2 separate regions of the Homo sapiens genome follow, and region 1 is linked to region 2. The links are contacts of gene promoters, found by promoter capture Hi-C in human tissues and cell types (Jung and others, 2019). All regions are on one chromosome and are shown on one strand. Each heading gives the region's core, a stretch centred on a gene start or on the middle of the fragment in contact. The rest is flanking DNA. Distances are from core to core; before and after follow the strand shown.

Evidence for each region. The method cuts DNA at HindIII sites, captures the fragments that hold promoters and counts their contacts. A contact is called where the count stands out against the background at its distance.
Region 1: a fragment that was not itself captured here is called in contact with the fragment with the promoter of ZNF446 in region 2 in 1 of the 25 tissues and cell types used here (spleen).

What each region holds. Positions count from the first base shown.
Region 1 is chr19:57,258,480-57,261,295 of GRCh38, forward strand. ZNF805 (zinc finger protein 805) reads left to right here. Exons shown (of 4, transcript NM_001023563.4): 4 at 1-2,816. Among named protein-coding and RNA genes, the nearest start is that of ZNF805, 19 kb to the left of the region's middle. The HindIII fragment of the contact is 9,939 bases long and covers 1-2,816 here.
Region 2 is chr19:58,475,100-58,478,051 of GRCh38, forward strand. It overlaps ZNF446 (zinc finger protein 446), which reads left to right and starts at 1,253. Exons shown (of 7, transcript NM_017908.4): 1 at 1,253-1,405; 2 at 2,080-2,461; 3 at 2,538-2,727. The coding sequence starts at 2,120. ZNF324 (zinc finger protein 324) reads left to right here. Exons shown (of 4, transcript NM_014347.3): 4 at 1-337. RefSeq lists enhancers at 342-431, 492-551, 792-1,041, 863-1,157, 1,312-1,511. The HindIII fragment of the contact is 17,703 bases long and covers 1-2,952 here.

The DNA.
Region 1 (2,816 bases), core at 1-2,500, 1.2 Mb before region 2:
ATATATTTGTAGTGTTTTTTAAATATATTTCTTTGTATTTTTGTATTAATTTTTTAGTGGTTGCTTTAAGTAGTATAATGTACATATGTAACATAATTACAGTTAATGGTATGAAAAATTTAGCACTTTGATGTATAGAAACCTTACTTGGTCCCTTCACCTTGCCTGTTAATATAATTGTCTAAAGTAATTCCTCTTCAAAATTGAGCACCATGTTGGAAAATGTAATTTTTGCTTCCACTGTCAAATATATTTTACAAAAGTCACAGGAAGTATTGCTTGTTGATCTCTTTACCCATTCCACTATTCTTTCTTGAAATTCTAAGCCACCTTCTATTAACATTTTCTTTCTGTTTGGCGAACTTGTGTAACCTTTTTTCTAGGGTCAGTCTGCTGGTGTCTCTAAAAGTGTCTTTATGTTCCCTTCATTCCTGAGGGATATTTTTGTGGGATAATAGGATTTAGGGTCTGCAGTTCTTTTAGTACTTGAGAAACATGTTTGTTCCTTCTGTCCGCTATGGTTTCAGATGAGAAATCTGTTGCCATTTGAACCATTGTTCCCTAGTTCATAATGTGCCATTTTTATCAACCTGCGTTCAAAGTGTTTTGTTTTTTTTGTAGTGTTCAGAAGTTTGGTTATGAGGTGTGTGACATGGAATTTTTTTGAGTGTATCATGTTTGGTTTTTGTTTAGCTTTTTGATTTGTCGGTTTATGCCCTTTGCCAAATTTGGGAATTTTTAACCATTATTTCTTGAAATATTTTTTCATCCCTACTCTTTCTCCTCTCTGTGATATGAATGGTAGAGCTTTTGTTACTGTCTCAGAGGTCTCTTGTGCTTTCATGTTTACCCCCTTTTTCTGGTCTATTTTTCCCTTTTTTTCATATTGGTTAATTTCTGTTGACTTTTTTTCAGCTCACTGATTCTTTTTTTCTGCCATATGCAGTCTACTGTTGAGCTTGTCCAATGAGTTTTCGTTTTGGTTTTTGTATTTTTCAGTTGTTTAATTTCCATTTGTTTTGTTTTGTTTTGTTTTGTTTTTTTGAGACAGACTCTTTGCTCTGTTGCCCAGGCTGGAGTGCAGTGGCGCGATCTCTGCTCACTGCAAGCTCTGCCTCCCGGGTTCATGCCATTCTCCTGCCTCAGCCTCCCGAGTAGCTGGGACTACAGGTGCCCGCCACCATGCCCGGCTAATTTTTTGTATTTTTAGTAGAGACGGGGTTTCACTGTGTTAGCCAGGATGGTCTCGATTTCCTGATCTGGTGATCCACCTGCCTCGGCCTCCCGAAGTGCTGGGATTACAGGTGTGAGCCACTGTGCCTGGCCTCCATTTGGTTCTTTTGTACATCTTTGATTTCTTTGCTTAGTTTATAATACTAAAGGGCTCAGAAAACAGAAAAAACTAAATTCCAGAGTCATGGTTTTCTGGTGGTTTGTCTCAATATTTGAATAGAAATCCTAAATTATCTGGAGGAGTAGAAGTCCTGTAATCTTTTATATTGGGCTTCTTAAATATTTCTGTCAACAGATCTTATATCAGGGTGATCTGCATATCATTCAGAGTTACGTACTCCACGGGAAGGTTGTATGTAAAATCCTCCAGCTCTGTAAGCCTTGTTATATCCTCAATGGAGAAGGGGTCATTCCTTTTCTAAGATCACTCTTACACTTTTTTATTAGACACACACACACCCTTCCCCAACCAAACTTGTCTAAGTCCTCTGTCTTTCATACTCTTGTTTAGTCTTTAACTTCTCCTTATTAACCAGCTTCTTTCCCATAATGTATAGCTTTAGTCGGATCTCAAGCCTCGTTTCCAACCTATTTCACCCTTCCTTGCCTATCAAGCTCTGGTTATTCTTTCTTCCACACACATGCCCTGAGTAACTATTCTGTGCACTGTCGCCACCCCTTTACATTTCCTTTTACTCCCCAGATACTACTAAATGGCTTCCACCACCGTTGCCTGACTTAAGCACGTCTCAGAAAGGTCCCTTTTGACCCCCTCACTCTCTTTTTGGACCTCCATACTGCTAAATCTCTGACTTGAAGGTCCTTTCCTGGCTTCTGTGAATTCCTGGCTTTTTTCCTTTTTAGGGTCTGTGTCTTTCTTCCATCTGTAAAACAGCTTTACTTCCCAGCATCCATCATGATCATTGCTGTTTTCTAACTTGTCCTTCACCCCATGACTGAGTTAATTTGCGCTGAAGACACTTTACTCTCAATTATCTACAGTGTTTCCCTAAATCTGTGTCTCCAGGTTGGATGTTTCTCATGTCGTTAACCACTGGTCATCCTTCCACACCTTTTCTGTATTTGCACTCACTGAGCCTATATGCATGTATCATGTGGCCATGACCTTGGCCGTGGGGATGCACCCATAATCATCATAAGAGAACACAAATTATTACTGTGTATCAGACATTGTTTCGAATGTTTTACATGCGTCAGCTCTTTTAACCTTTATGACAACTCCATAATGTTATTTCCCCCCTTTAACTGATTAGAAAACTGAGGTACAGAAAGATTAAGGAATTTGTCAAAGATTTCACAATTATGAAATTTGGGTTTGGGGACTGGAAGCCACTGCACTGGCTTCAGAATCCATGTCCTTAACCACTTTATTGCTTCTCATAAGGTGGGTCTTTGTTTCCTGGTCATCACTTGTTTTTACTAAAATGGGTCAAACTGTGCTCATTTATTTATAATCTACTATTCTTATTTGACAGTACATCTTGGCCATTCCTTCAAGCAAATGAGATAAACCAGACTCACTCTTTAATGCCTGCATAAGCTATTGTGACTGTAGAAAAGAC
Region 2 (2,952 bases), core at 3-2,502:
ACCTCATCCCCAAAAACAACCTGAGGAGGCCGTTGGAAAGCTCCGAGTTGACAAGTCTCATCCACGCACATGCTCGGTGCTTCCAATCGGTGATCAAGACCACTGCTCTTCATCCAGAGCAGGCAGCAGGGATTCCCAGGTATCCAAAGAAACCAAAACAGGCGGTGTAATTTAGGACTGACTAAGTAATGGCTCGGCCACTTTTAAGTGTGGAAGCAAAACTGACCCCACAGATTTAGAAAACTGTAACACTGCTTATTGGGAGAAACTAGTGTCACCCTGGCTAGTTCTGCTCCCCAAATTCAAAGGTAAATAAACGGTTGAGCATGTCCGATCAGCCTGGAGGGAAACCTCCACCCCCGACTTTGTAGGACTGACATCTGAAGACGTCAGAGACTGCGGTCACAACCGTCGGTACCTCCTTAGGGCGCTTAACAGAGGTCAAAGATGGCCCTCGCACCCTCCTGGCGGGAGAAAGCCCAGGCTCAGGGTGGTCTTCTACACCACCGCCTCTCCCGGGTCCACTTGGAAGCGAGTCCCAGCGAACTACTCGACCTAGGAAACCACTGGGCCGCCACTTCCAGCCTCTTCGGAAGTCGAGGCAACGCTCCTGAACGTTGCCACGGGAACAGCTGGAGGCGGGCGGATATGCCCTAGCGTTATCTAGGGGCTGGCCCGGGGAATGGCGTGGGGGCGGCGGGGCCAAGCAAGCGCCACCTCTGATTGGGCAAAACCCCCTCCCCTCACCTGCCAATAGAAACCGGCCCACTGTACAGACGCGCAAGTTTATAACCCGGGAAGAGCTGCTCTCAGAGCGGAGGGAGACCATATAACCCTGGGACTCTGCCGTACCTCCTAGAGGAACAGAGCGCCTCTCAGGCGTCAGAGGCTGCTGCAAATGCGGGTCAGCGGGTCACGGTCGCGCCTGTCTTGCTGATGCTCATGGGAAATGTAGTTCAAAGGGCATGGGCGGTGCCTTCGGTGCAGGCGAGAGATTGGTCAGCGCGGCGTCGCCGGGGCAACACCCGGCTGAGGCGCCCCGCGTTGTGCGGCGCCACATCCGGGAAGCGGCCTCCAAGCAACCGCTCCGGGTTGAGGTGAGCGCAGGCTGCCAGAGTGGGCGCAGCCTTTCCACCCCGTGGGAGGGCTTGGGGTCGCCCTCTGGGGCCTGAACGGCTCCTGCTGTCGGCGCCCTGGAGGGCCCGCCCACTTCCCGACAGGCCGCGCGCGTCACCTCAGCCTTCGCTCAGGCCTTTCCTACCCTCAACGCCGTTCCGGGGGGCCGGGCCTGGCAAGTCCTCTTGGAACGCCTCCCTCTTGCCTTCCCCTTTTGGGGACAGATCCCGAAGTTCGAGCATCCCTCGGATAGGCCGGGTGTCAGGCCTGGTCTCTCAGGCCCGTCCAGGTGGGCGTCTTTCACTGCAGACCTTCAGGGCCGGGATGCTGTGGCCATCCCTCGACTCCGCGCAACGTGGAGCTTTGGCCCCGTTTTTCTTGGCCTTTGCTTTTCGTTTTCACATGCACGGGCCCCGGCAGTGTGAGTCGCCCACGGCTCGCTGTGGTCAGCGAGCACGATGTCCACGTGCCCCCTCCCCAGAGCCATTCCTAAAGGAGGTCCCACCCAGTCAACCTCCCCGAGATTGTGGAGGGCGACTCGTCCCCGTACATTACAGCCTGGCCCCACCTTCTACCCGCCCACCCTGGTCCACTCTCCTCGCACCTCGGCTAGACACTGTGGCTCCTCAGCCTGGCGCTGGAACTCTGTGATGACTGTCTTTCTCCACCTCTTTAGCGTCATCTCCCAGCAGTCCCCTGCTGGACCCAACTGTTTGCAATTTCCAGGAAGCTCCCTGGACACCTTGCGTCCAAGCATTTGTCCCTGAGGCTTCCTCCTGCTCTCATTTGCCATCATTGTTTGGGTCCTGTGACCCTCCTCCTTCCATGAAGCTTTCTTGGCCTTATCTCTTCTGGCCTCAGAGTACACTTGGTCCTGGTCTCAGCCCCCTGGGCTGAGCCTGGTGTCTGCCTTCCCCTGGCCAGATTCTCTTGGCTGACATTCCGACCCTTCCTTTTCTGTAGGCCCATCTTGACGATTCCAAGACCACCCCCTTGAGCAAGAATGCCATCCCCTCTGGGTCCCCCATGCCTGCCCGTCATGGACCCAGAGACCACCCTTGAGGAGCCTGAGACTGCCCGCCTCCGCTTCCGAGGGTTCTGCTACCAGGAGGTGGCAGGTCCCCGAGAAGCCCTGGCCCGGCTGCGTGAGCTGTGTTGCCAGTGGCTGCAGCCTGAGGCACACTCCAAGGAGCAGATGCTGGAGATGCTGGTGCTGGAGCAGTTCCTGGGCACACTGCCTCCCGAGATCCAGGCCTGGGTGCGCGGTCAGCGGCCAGGCAGTCCTGAGGAGGCCGCTGCCCTAGTCGAAGGACTGCAGCATGACCCTGGGCAACTGTTGGGCTGGGTGAGTGTGGCTGGCATCAGCTTCTTGGAGGGATAGACCCTGGCTAGAGCCATTGTGACCTACCTCTTCTCCTCAGATCACAGCCCATGTCCTGAAGCAGGAGGTGCTCCCTGCAGCCCAGAAGACAGAGGAACCACTTGGGAGCCCCCACCCCTCAGGGACAGTGGAGTCCCCTGGGGAAGGTCCCCAGGACACCAGAATAGAGGGGTCTGTCCAGCTCAGCTGCAGTGTGAAGGAGGAGCCCAATGTCGATGGACAGGAAGTGGGTGAGGTTGGGGTCCCACCAGAGATGAGGGACTCCTGGAGGAAGTGTGGACATTCCTGGCTAGGGTGGGAGTCCCAGGAGAGGTGTGTCAAGGCTGGGACTCCTGAAGTGAATGTGGATGTCCCTGTCTGGGATGGGGACCTGGGAGGCAGGAGCCAAGGGCTGGCTACGTGCCATGTCACACAGCAGAGGAGCTCCTCATCTGCCATGGCTCATGTGGGCAGCC